2 separate regions of the Homo sapiens genome follow, and region 1 is linked to region 2. Evidence: promoter capture Hi-C in human tissues and cell types (Jung and others, 2019). All regions are on one chromosome and are shown on one strand. Each heading gives the region's core, a stretch centred on a gene start or on the middle of the fragment in contact. The rest is flanking DNA. Distances are from core to core; before and after follow the strand shown. Region 1 overlaps BEST3 (bestrophin 3). Region 2 holds the start of BEST3 (bestrophin 3).

What was found. Contacts are between HindIII fragments. The study calls those that stand out against the background at their distance.
Region 1: a fragment that was not itself captured here is called in contact with the fragment with the promoter of BEST3 in region 2 in 1 of the 25 tissues and cell types used here (aorta).

Annotation. Positions count from the first base shown.
Region 1 is chr12:69,649,899-69,655,829 of GRCh38, forward strand. It overlaps BEST3 (bestrophin 3), which reads right to left. Exons shown (of 10, transcript NM_032735.3): 10 at 3,711-5,915. The coding sequence ends at 5,009. All of the region lies in intron 3 of LOC105369823 (a long non-coding RNA gene), which reads left to right. Among named protein-coding and RNA genes, the nearest start is that of LRRC10, 42 kb to the left of the region's middle. The HindIII fragment of the contact is 6,699 bases long and covers 686-5,931 here.
Region 2 is chr12:69,696,341-69,702,780 of GRCh38, forward strand. It overlaps BEST3 (bestrophin 3), which reads right to left and starts at 2,963. Exons shown (of 10, transcript NM_032735.3): 1 at 2,865-2,963; 2 at 1,307-1,473. The coding sequence starts at 1,458. The HindIII fragment of the contact is 5,542 bases long and covers 1,585-6,440 here.

The sequences.
Region 1 (5,931 bases), core at 2,785-5,284, 45 kb before region 2:
AAGATACAACATTCCCTTTGCTGCTTCTGGCAAATGTCTAAAATTAGAAGATCAGAGATGATTCTAGGTAACCACCTGGCCACATCTACCTGTGGCAAAAGGAAGGTTTGAGTCCACTTTCTGAATTAACTCAGAGACAAAACAAAATAAAACACAAAAACGTAATCTCCAAACTGAATTAATTATTTGAGCAAATGTGGTTTTTGGGTCTCTATTTTACAGGGAAATTGGTGCATTTTCCATTTGCCATGGCCAGGCATGAGCTGACTGCACAGGTGGAGGTGATGAAGAGAGAGAGTTTGGAGAGAGGTGAATGTTTGTTAGGATTCTGTCTCTCAAGCTTTGCCAGTGAATAGGAATATTTTTTCTGGGTTTTGTAAATTTGCAAAAAGAGAATGATCCTGGTATTCTTGAATTGGTTCTTTCGACTCAGTGGCCACATGAGTGGAAAAGCCTGTCCCAAAAATTAAGGTCCATAGAACTAAAAAAACAAAAAAGCATGCAAAAGTATTGAGGACCTATCTGACATAGTTCAACAAGACAAAATGAGGAAATCCTTGGTTGTTACTGTTAATAGCCCAGCACATCAGAAAATGTTTGTTGTTGATCATGTAGATGATTGTGATAAGAGAGGGGCAGGGGGAATTAGGTTTCAACCTGCTCTTGCTTAGGAGTTTTTACAGTTGTAGTTGTTCTTTCTAATTAACTGATCCAGGACCAGGTTTAGGGAGATTAGATACCTCAAGAGGGTCTTCTAACTTTGAACCAGGGGTTCTAAATCCTCTAGATTTATAGTGGAGAAAACAGAAGCAACTACTTTTCTCCAGTTCCATGTTTTGATTGAGGGGATGGAGACACATAATGGGTTAGAGGAGGAATTCATTGCCATGGTGATGAGGCCTGGGATATGGTGGACAGTGAAGAACTATGACAAAAAACACTGCAGAGAAAGAAGATGTGGGAGGAGTTGGGAAGCATATGAAAGGAAAAAAAAACCAAGAGAGAAATGACTAGATTAATAATTTGGAAGCTTAATGGTGTGTGTCTTAGAAGAAAAGTTTTCTGAGCCAGGCACAGTGGTGCATGTCTGTAAGCCCCAGCTTCTCCGGAGGCTGAGACAGGCAGATCTCTTGAGCTAGGGAGTTCAAGGCCAGCCTGGGCAACATAGCAGGACTTGTCTCTAAAAAAAGAAGGAAAGCTTCCTGAATGAAAGAGGCTAGAATCCTGTAGAATAAGTAGATCCTGGCAAACAAGTGACTAAATGAGGAAGAGAGGAAGGGCTTTTTCTGAAGTTCATAGTGAATCCATGGGAACATTAATCCCCAGTCATGCTTGCCATCCATACAGTGCTGCTGCATTCCCAGCCTCCTCTCACGATGCCTCATGAAGGGCAAGTGAAATGAGCCAGAAAAGAGCCCATTTTATAGATGAGAATAAGAAGTTCAGAAGAACGCAGACTTGTTCAAATTTGTAAAGGAAAACACTGGTTTTCCTTATCCCATTATAACTCATGGCCACTTGGGCTCAGTAGATTCTCAGAGAGTAGATTTTATGACATTAAGAGCTCAGAAAAATGACTTAAAATGGAATCAAACAGGGTGTGGTGGCTCATGCCTATAATCCCAGCACTTTGGGAGGCCAAGATGGGTGGATCACTTGAGGTCAGGAGTTCAAGACCAGCCTGGCCAACATGGTGAAACCCTGTCTCTACTAAAAATACAAAAAAATTAGCCAGGTGTGATGGCGGGTCCCTGTAATCCAAGCTACTCGGGAGACTGAGGCAGGAGAATTGCTTAAACCCAGGAGGTGGAGGTTGCAGTGAGCAGAGATTGTGCCACTGCACTCCAGCTCTGGGCGACAAAGTGAGACTCTGTCTCAAAAAAAAAAGAAAAAAAAAAAAAGAAAGAAAAAAATTGAATTGATTTTTCTGGAGAAGAAGGAAGCTAGAGGCGAAAACACCAAAAACAAGAGGAGTATTTCTAAGATTTAAACAAATCTTTACTTTCATGGCAAATTTTACATTTCTCCATTCCATTTAAAATATTTTCCATAGCTTAGCTGAACCAGGCTGAAAGTGGATGTCTGGAGTGGTGGAGGCGATACACCATGAAGTAGACAGGACAATAAAGGAAGGGGAGATAACAGCCTTCTTTGTTTTGCTGGGTGCCAGTCATTCTCTAAAATTCTTGGAAAATTGAGAAAAAGTTAGTGGGCCATTTCCTTACTGAACTACAAACCCCAGCATCAGGGCAGAGTTATCTCTACAAAGCAGGGAGAGAACGCAACAAATAGAGCTTGGCCTCACCGCACTCTCTGGCTTTTGGATCACATTTAATGTGAGAGAGTTGAGCCTGTTCTTGGAATGGGCAAACTCAAAAGATTAAGCCACCAGGCCATGTGACCATTCATCCAGGTGGGTGAAGGTTCCAGGACTCAGGGAAAAAGGAGCTAGGCAGGCAATGAAATCAGGTACATGAGAAGAAATCATTTTGTTTTTTTCAACCGTGGTCTGTGTTGAGTAAAAACTCATTTTAGAATTAATAGAGAATTTCTTCATCTGCTCTGAGCAATTGCTGGTTTGATTTTATAGCTGAATTCAACCACACGGGCTCATTGAGCATGTCATAATTTAGTTTTCATTGCAAGAAGAAAATGAGAGTCTATCTCAAATTTTGAAGAAATATTGAGGAAATTAAAAAATTATCTGGATAAAAGTGCATAAGGGGCGTGTGGAAGCAGAGATAAATGAACACTGCCAGCCCTTCATAAATGTATTATTATATTTGTGTATAATTTATCACCTTGGATTTAGGAATGAAAACTGATTATGTTTCAAAAGCAGCTAAGTAGAAACTTACTTGAATTTGAGCAACAGACAGAGCTAAAGAGAAGAGAATAGACAGACTGAAATTGAAATACCCAAGAAAATAGCATTAAGAGCCTGGTGACTGGGAGAAGGTTAGGGATCCTGCCTTCTAGAAGTGTTATATTGGCTCTTGATCCCATAGTCTATACGTAGTGCTTTGGGAATAACGGGGCTTTCCCAGATGCTAACACTACCAACCAACATAGAGAACCATCAAGGTATAGCATTTCCTCTAATATTATTTCTTTTCAGTCCTTTGAGAAAAGTCAGTTAAAGTAAATGTCATTGTTGTCATGCAGCTTGGAGGCCTGGGAGATATGAGGTCTTGTGAAAATGTGCTAATTTGAACATTGCGTATCAGGAGGAGTTGGTGAAGGGAAGGAGGGTCCTGCCAACTTTTTTCTGTCATGAAAAATGAAGAGGACTATGGGTGGTACTCCAAGCTGGAGCAATGCCCTTCTCTATGAATGCATAAAAGACGCAGGTAGACTTGAGCGGGGAGGACCCAGAGAGGCCCTTGAGGCTGGAGAGATTTAGCCTGAATCTGTGAGTTGGGCATGCCTCCCTTGGGGCATCCTCCAGAATGCTGGGCAAATTGCTGGCAGATTCAGGGCCTTACACATAGCACAGGGCAGTGAGAAAGCATAGTGGTTAACAGTGTGGGCTCTTGAGTCAGATAAACCTGGGTTTGAAGATGAACACTGTCACTTCTCGGCTATGTGATTTTAGGCAAATACCTTACTTCTCTAAAGCCTGTTTCTCTCGTCTTTAAAATGGAAATAACAGTATATCAGTCTCATAAGATTCGCTGCTGCCTGGAACAGTGTAAGCACTCAATAAATGGTAGTTTTGAGGGTTATTTTATTTCTAAAGCCATATGTAGTCAAGTGCCATCATATGACAAATGGTAAGTGCAGCAGTCGTAAGGCATGGCCTAGGCACTTGGGAGCCCACGACAAACAGCTGTCCTGAGAGCTCCCTGGGAGGAGTACCAACATCCGATCCCCATTATGCAGCTCTGGACCCCATTAGCCTCCCAGCTCCAGTATCCTGCCCATTCCCAAATGACCCGATAGACACAGTAACTGGTCCCGTGTTGCGACACGATTAGGATTTTTGCATAAGAGTTCAAGTTAAACAGATGTGAGTCATCTTATTCTTTGGTTCCATAGCATTTGGCTATGCAAATTTCATATTCTCTTGGCTTCGTTTTTCTCCAGTGCCCAACACCAAATAGTGGAAGCAGAAAGAAATGTCAATGGCTGCAAGGGCACGGGGGGAACCATCACTCCTATATGCCTTCCACTGGAAGTGAGACTGGAAGGGTATCAGGCTGGATTTGTTGACACCTTTGATGATTCTGTAGGAGGCTTTGCCAATGTCTTATATTTTGAAATTCATGGCAAGACATAAGCAACAGATTTGGCAAGAGGAAATATTATAACCTGAAAAATGGGACAGATTACTAGAAAAGCAGCACAACCAGGGAGAAGGGAAGGGAAAAAAAGGATGACAGAATAAAAGGAAAAGAGAGAAAAGTAAAAAAGGAAATTGAAGAGAATTAAGTGTTCTGGTGCTGATGAAGCTTAAGAATCAGGAAGTGATAATAACAATAATAGTTATAAAAGTAGGAATGAGATGGTTAGAAAGCCTCAAACAAAAACGTTAGGAAGGAGGGGATCTTTCAGGCATTAGGTGATCCATCTCCTTTCTTTATGGCTAAAGAAAAAAAGAAAGAGAAAAAAGAAGAGAAATAGAGAACCCTGCGTGTCTGGGCCTTTGGGTCTAGGGGATTGGACTATGATCTATGAGACTCTTTCCACAACTAATAATCTATGAATTTATAAGTCATGTATGTTTTTCAGATTCCTTTTTTTGGTTAAGACTTATTTGGCTAAATCACTGTGGTCTGTGTAACTTCTGATGAAAGCCATGTTGTGTTGGATGACGTGAATGCGTTTGATTTTTCGCAGCTCTCAAAAAGTCAGGATCATAATGCCCTTCAAAGTTCTAAGTAGCTTATACAGTGTGATCATGTTTTTTAAAAAGTCGACCAGCCTTCAGGTATGTCCTGGGCCTAATATGCTGCTTTTGGGGAGGTAAGAATCTAGGCTAGAACCAGGTCCTAGAACTTGGTGGCACTCATTTGGGTGATTCCTCAGTTTCCTTGTTCAGCTCTATGATATCTGTTTCCTTGGTGTCCAGGTTTTCCATTAAATACAGCATATCAGAAGAGACTCGAGAGCCAGCCACAATGTTGATCCCACTGATCTCTGAGGATGTTTCTGTGTCAATTAAAAGAGCTGGCTGAGAGCTCATGGGGTCTGGACTTAGGTTTCCCAGGGAAGTGTGGCTGGACCCCAGGAATCCCGGAAGACTCCACCTTTTTAGAAAGGTATCACCAGGGTCTTCTTCACAGTTGAATATATTTTCCTCAGCGCTGGCTGAAACTGTCTGGGGACTGGGGCCTCCAGGAGGTGTCTCCTTCTCTGAGGGAGACAGGATGGATCCCATGGGGCCCTGCTGCTGCTCAGTCTTGCTTGGCTGAACCCCTGTAAACTCAGAGCTCAAGATGGAGGTAGCGGAATCATGGTGGTAGCCCCCTGATGTGGGCACTGGTGCTTCGGCTGCTGTGATCAATACCTCAGGTACCAGTGGCATTTTGATGGGGGAAGTTCTCACACTGGACTGTGGGGTCAGGCTCTGTAAAGTGCTTGTCTGGCTGGTCTCCCTGATGGTGGACAGCTCTCCCATGCTGAAGTGCAGCGTGGGGCTTCCTTCTGGGAAGCAGGATTTCTTCCAGGTGGGTGAGGCCCTGGGGGGGTTTCTTGAGGGCACATCCAGTAGGTCCCTGGCTGGGCTGAGGTCATCTCGGGGTAAGAACATGGAGCTGTCACTTGTCTGCCTCCTGTAGCTTCTTCTTCTGGGGCTGGAGGGGTGTTCGTGGGCACTCAGGAACCGCTTGACTCTTCTTATCATGGAATGCCGATGGCCATGCTTCTCATAATCCCACAGCCACTCCTCGTCAGGAAAGTCGGACCCAGACAGCCTGAAACACACAATGA
Region 2 (6,440 bases), core at 1,713-4,212:
CTACATTGCAACTGTACTAAGGGCTATTCTGTTCTATTCTTAGCAGAAGTAGCAGCAATAAATTCACATTAGTAAAAATGAACTAATGAGATAATTATCACGAAACACCATTGTATCTTTTACCATTTCATATTCTGAAGGCTTAGGTGATACCTACCTAAATTGCCAAAATAATATCATATTATATGACATGTCTGAAAAATTATTAGAGGTTGTTAATAGGACTTTCCCTCTAAAAATATTTTGTCAAGATATATACCAATGCATACACTTGCTTGGAAGGGTTGTTTTGACATGTGGAAAAATAGCTGTACCTATTTTACTTTTAATAATTATCAGTCAACTACATTAATATCCCTCTTTTCCAAAGGAGATCCTGTTGCTGCAAGGAAGAATGTGAGAGCAATGAAACACAAATTTGTTTATCTGTATGCAGAAGAAAAATAACAAACTATGAACATAGAAAAAATGGAAATACAGCCTCAAAAACCTTTAGCTTTCCTGTTTTAAATTTTAGCTTCCTCCAGAGAAGAAATTTATGCATTCAATTTTAATAAAAAAAGCTTTAAAATCTCATAAGTCTTCCCTTTTATCATACTGATGAAATTTTATTAAGACTATAACTTTTCATCATAAAAATATTTCTTGGACTTGATATTGCTCAAATTTCCTGTCAATCTGACAGGCATATGTTGTAATGTTATAAAGAATAAGCACCTCCTTTTGTGAACATAATATACCCTCAACTCAGAAAACGGAAAGAAAATAAATTATTCTACAGGCCTTTGCTTTAGTTGAGGTACTGTTAAGTGTGGCAGGCATCATCCTGGATAAGATATTTTCATTCCAGGCCAAAAGAAGGAAAGCTTTTCCCTGACATACACCAATCATGAACATGTTGATTATATAGGTAGTTGCTACAAGCTGTCAAATCATCAACTATGAATGACAAGTTGACAGAAGCACAAATAATTATTGTCTGTGGACTTTGCCCATTCAAAAGTCTTTACACAGTAAAGATCTAAGGATAATCCTTCCATTTTGTGCCTATTGCAACAGTCTCGAGGCACAACTGGGGCTGGAATGAAGGCCACCTGAATCTTAACAGTGAGGGTCTATTTTACAACCTAACAATGGTTAGTGGTGGATTAAAATCTGTCCTGAGGGGAAGAAGACAAATGAGAGGCTCACGCAAAAAAGGAGTTCCATAATGCGAAGTCAGTGGCAATCAAAAGGTTCAGATTTTTGAGACTGTATCTTACACAATATCTGATGGCCATTTAAGGAGACATGTAAAGAAAAGTACCTGTATACCAAACTTATTGCTGTATAAAGAACAGCAAAAACAATAAATTCCCTGTACAGTAGTTTGTAGATGCTGCCTCTCCACTTGAGGAGTAACCTATGAAATCCAAAAAAAGTTGCATTTGCTACTTTACTGGAGTAAGTGACAGTCATCTTGGATAGTTTTTTCTAGAAGAGCAAGAAGACAAAACACAAGTAAAAAGCAATGTTTAAAATAGGGCATAAATCTGTATGTCTGTATATCAAGGAAATTCAAGCCAGCAACTAGTCAGCCATATCTCTGTTTTGTCTTTCTTAGTTTCTATAATTCGGAACTTTCAGATAACCATTATCTCAGTTTAGCAGAAAGCAGGAGGAAAGCAGTCTCTGGGAAGAGTAATATTAGACATCTTAAACTTGCCTTAACTGTTAAATATTATTTTTAGATTATATAGCCATTGGCCAATATATATTTGAATGAACAAATGAGACAAACAAGGCCCTCGTGAGAATTTAATTGATGGGGCACTTTTGGTGGGTTTGATTGCATGTAGATGTCTCTCTAGTGGAGGTCCAAATGCATCGTTAGCACTCATTGCATTTCAAAAGTCAGCCAAAAAGTTGGGTCATAGTGATAAATAAGAATGGTGCAGTTTCCCCATGACAAGTTGTACATAAATGCTTAGGGATGGTTCACATTCTCTTTGGAGTTGAACAAAATGAGGTCATTATTTACAACTCTTTCTACTTGAGTCCATTTCATGAATGTGGTTAGGATGAGCACTGGGCCCAAAAGCCTTGTTTTTGGTGAGTTCTTTGGAATTCCACCACTTTTCACCAAGACATTAAATATTCAGGTTTTGAAACAGACAGCGCAAAGCTAATCTTTGAAAATCTTGCTCAATTTCTGGCTAAGATAGAACATATGCAAATAAAATGAGATTTATTTAAAATCTTACTTTTCTCAAAAGGATCTATGAGGAGAGTCTTATAGAGCTACTTAGACTGAAATCATGAAGCTTTTAGATAGAATTGTACTAGACACAAAAAATAAATTCTGTAGCAGATTTCTTTTGTAAAGTAGCCTACACCACACATTTTATCATAAACAAGAAAATTTTCTATCTTTACTCATTGCTGGAAAAACAATTCAACTCTGATTTGCCTATTTTCCCTAAGGAAATGAAACTCTGGAGCTACGTTTACAGCATTTTCTAAAATCACAAACTTAGCTTTCAACATTACTGATTTTAATAAAGAAGGTAGGGCCTTTTGGCACAAGTAAGTGGCATTACAAAAGGATGGGACTCATGCCACAAAACCGGTTTTATTTTTCCATCTTTACCTTGTCTATTTGCCTAGTGCGAATACAGCCAAAATTGGGAGAGGAGCATAATAAATTAAACCCATTTCATAATTTGTTCTCATGGACTCCCGGTAGTTTTAAATAACAGTCCTTAATTAACTTTCCTTTCTTTCATTTAGTAGTTCACTCTTCTTTTCAAGCTCTGCCAGGAAAATGAAAATCACAGCAAGTAGAGGTCAGAATTAAAATGCATAGGTTTACTCTGGGCACTAACCTATTTATTTGGTTTGTAGTCTCCGACAGGAAAGAGAATCTTCAAATTTCGGGCTCCCCCGAAGAGGTGCCTTCAGGTCGGTGCTGCACGCCCGGTGTCACCCTTCGCTCGTGCACAGTCAGATTTTCTTTCTGTTCTCTGGCCACTGAGAGGACCCAGAGTGTGACAAGAACAGGGGTTAAATGTTTTTCCACTTGTAGAGGCCTGTTTATGCCAGTTTAGCCACTGATGACAGTTATAGCTGGGAACAAACAGAAGCAACAGCTGCTGATGCTGCTTTTTTCTAAGCTATAATTATAACTCCACCTGCCACCCCAAGTACCCCTTTGAATGAGAAGTTGGCAGTGACATGAAGGATGTTGGGCCGTTTGTCTGTTAGATTCATTTGACTCCACCCTGGGATCAAGGAAGAAAGGTTGATTTGGCCCTAAAGAGTTCAAAAAAGAGGCCCCACCAGCCAAAAAAAAAAAAAAAAAGTCTTTTTGTGCTTGAAATGAAGATTAAATTCTTAAAACTGGGCTGGAACGCGGTGGCCCACACCTGTAATCCTAGCACTTTGGGAGGCTGAGGCAGGCAGATCACCTGAGGTCAGGAGTTCGAGACCAGCCTGGCCAACATGGTGAAACGCTGTCTCTACTAAAAATACAAAAATTAGCTGGGTCTGGCGGTGGGCTCCTGCAATCCCACCTACTTGGGAGGTTAAGGCTGGAGAATCACTGGAACCCAGGAGGCGGAGGTTGCAGTGAGCTGAGATCACACCACTGCACTCCAGCCTGGGCGACAGAGCGAGACTCTGCCTCAAAAAACAGATGAAAAAATTCTTATGAAGCCATAAACTGGGGCAGACAAGAATATAAACAGGATTTTTGCCACTTGAGAGGTGTTGAAAATGTTCTTCAATTAAAAGCAACGATTATGTGTTAGTGTGTGTGTGGTGTGTGTTTGTGTGTTAGAAGAACACATAGAGAATCATGATATATTGATGGCTTAGTGTAGTGGGAAATAATAACACATGGATTCATCACATTTTTTTTCTTTTAAGATGGAGTCTCGCTCTGTCGCCCAGGCTGGAGTGCAGTGGCACGATCTTGGCTCACTGCAACCTCACCTCCCGGGTTCAAGCGATTTTCCTCCCTCAGCCTCCCAAGTAGCTGGGATTACAGGTGCACACCATCACACCGGCTAATTTTTTATATTTTTGGTAGAGATGAGGCTTCACCATGTTGGCCAGGCTGATCTCGAGCTCCTTACCTCAAGTGATCTGCCTGCCTCGGCCTTCCAAAATGCTGGGATTACAGGCGTGAGGCAACGCACCCGGCCAGATTCATCACATTTGTTATCCTTCCATGGTCAGCTAGGAAATTTTTTCTTTTTTTTTTTGAGATGGAGCTTTGCTCTTCTTGCCCAGGCTGGAGTGCAATGGTGCCGATCACGGTGCACTGCAACCTCCGCCTCCCGGGTTCAAGCGATTCTCCTGCCTCAGCCTCCTGAGTAGCTGGGATTACAGGCATGCGCCACCATGCCCAGCTAATTTTGTATTTTTAGTAGAGACAGGGTTTCTCCATGTTGGTCAGTCTGGTCTTGAACCCCCGACCTCAGGTGATATGCCTGCCTCGGCCTCTCAAAGTGCTGGGATTACAGGTGTGAGCCCACCACACCCGGCGCATAGTTTCTTTCTTTTCTTTTCCTTCCTTCCTTCCTTCCTTCCTTCCTTCCTTCCTTCCTTCCTTCCTTCCTTCCTTCCTTCGTTCCTTCCTTCGTTCCTTCCTTCCTTCCTTCCTTCCCTCCCTCCCTCCCTCCCTCTCTCTCTCTCTCTTCTTTCTTTCTTTCTTTTTTTGAGACACAGTCTCACTCTGTCGCTTAGGCTGGAGTGCAATGGCACAATCTTGGCTCACTGCAACCTCTGCCTCCTGGGTTCATGCAATTCTCCTGCCTTAGCCTCCCGAGTAGCTGGGACTACAGGCGTGTCCCACCACACCTGGCTAATTTTTGTATTTTTGGTAGAGAGGGAGTTTCACCATATTGGTCAGGCTGGTCTTGAACTCCTGACCTGGTGATTCGCCCTCCTCAGCCTCCCAAAGTGCTGGAATTATAGGCGTGAGCCATCGCGCCCAGCCCCATATTTTCTTTCTTAAAAGAGAGAATTCACCAGCGTTCTTTAAGTAATAAAATAAATAATTTCAGGGCCAATTCCTGGGACTTTTCCAACCTTCTAAAGTAACTTGTGCACCCTTGCACCTTAACTTAAAGAAAATGTATTTTTGTGGAGAAAGATATAGAAAAAAATGCTTATTCTAAAATTAAGATTACATATAATTAAATTTTTCTAAAACAGTAAGTTTTATATGCATTTCGCTGGATTCTTTATCAAATTCTAGGTACCTTAGATTAGAGCAAAGCCAGGGCTGTAGGTATCTTTTTAATTTCTTGCCCCCATCCCTGTTCATAATTCCAGTATGGAGCCCTGTGAATAATGAATATTTAGTATGTATTTGCTGTTTGATTATTCCTTACCTTCACTATTATAATTCTGTTGGTTATTTGAGGGAATTTGTGAACATTTAAAAAGCATATATACAATGTTGCACATCTTATGTTGTGTTGCCATGAAAAGTGGTCTGATAGATCTGATGTTATGTTTATAAAGGTTTGCAAGACGAATCTCAGCAAATCTAAACCCAAATGCTTATGAAATAGGAACATCGGAGGTATTTTGTAAAATTCTCACTCTTGCATCTCCTATTGGTTGTGTGGTGGCCCTGACAGCTGGCATATTCCCAGCAGCCATGACTGCATAGCTAGGGGATCTGCCTCTGTGGGGCACTGAACGCACTGTTGGTTGGTTTCATTTCTAAACAGGGATAATTATGTTCCTCTCTCCCATTGGGTTGTTTTGAGGAATGACTAATTAATGGTTGGAGACAGCATTCTAAATGCAAATTAGTCAATAATGATCAGATTGAATGAACAAACTCCCATTGTTGAGCTCTGAATCTGGTGGTGATTTCTAACAGGTACTGAAAGAGGCCTTGTCGAAATAGCCCTGCTTAGAGGAGACAAGCCACTAAAGCTTATTTTAAAATATCCAACAAACACCGGATTGCAAAGTTGAAGGCTCATATCACTTTTTAAATCGAACTTTAAAGTTTCTTTAGAAATTTTTTTCCAGATTCTAAAAGTAAAATATGATTATTAAAAAATAAAAAGGAAAACAACATATAAAGAAGACAGTGGCACTCTGTCCTGCCACACTAGAGGGGTGGTATCATTTGGCATAAAGTTAATCTTGCTAGACTTTTGTGGAAAATATTTTAACCCTATAATTAATAGCAAACGATATGATAGACCCTTAGGCAATTTCAGGGCTCTATGAAATAACTATACCAGCCATATTTTCCCTTGACAGTAAACATCAAGTTATGTGATTTTGACCACTCTGATTTTCAACAGTCCAGAGTAGCACATTTGTCTTTGATTCCAGTAAACCTCCAATGACAGGGCAATTCATAGAAAAGAACAAGGAATCATTTCCACTTGGAATCCTGATATTCACCTATAGATGTCAAAATAAATCTC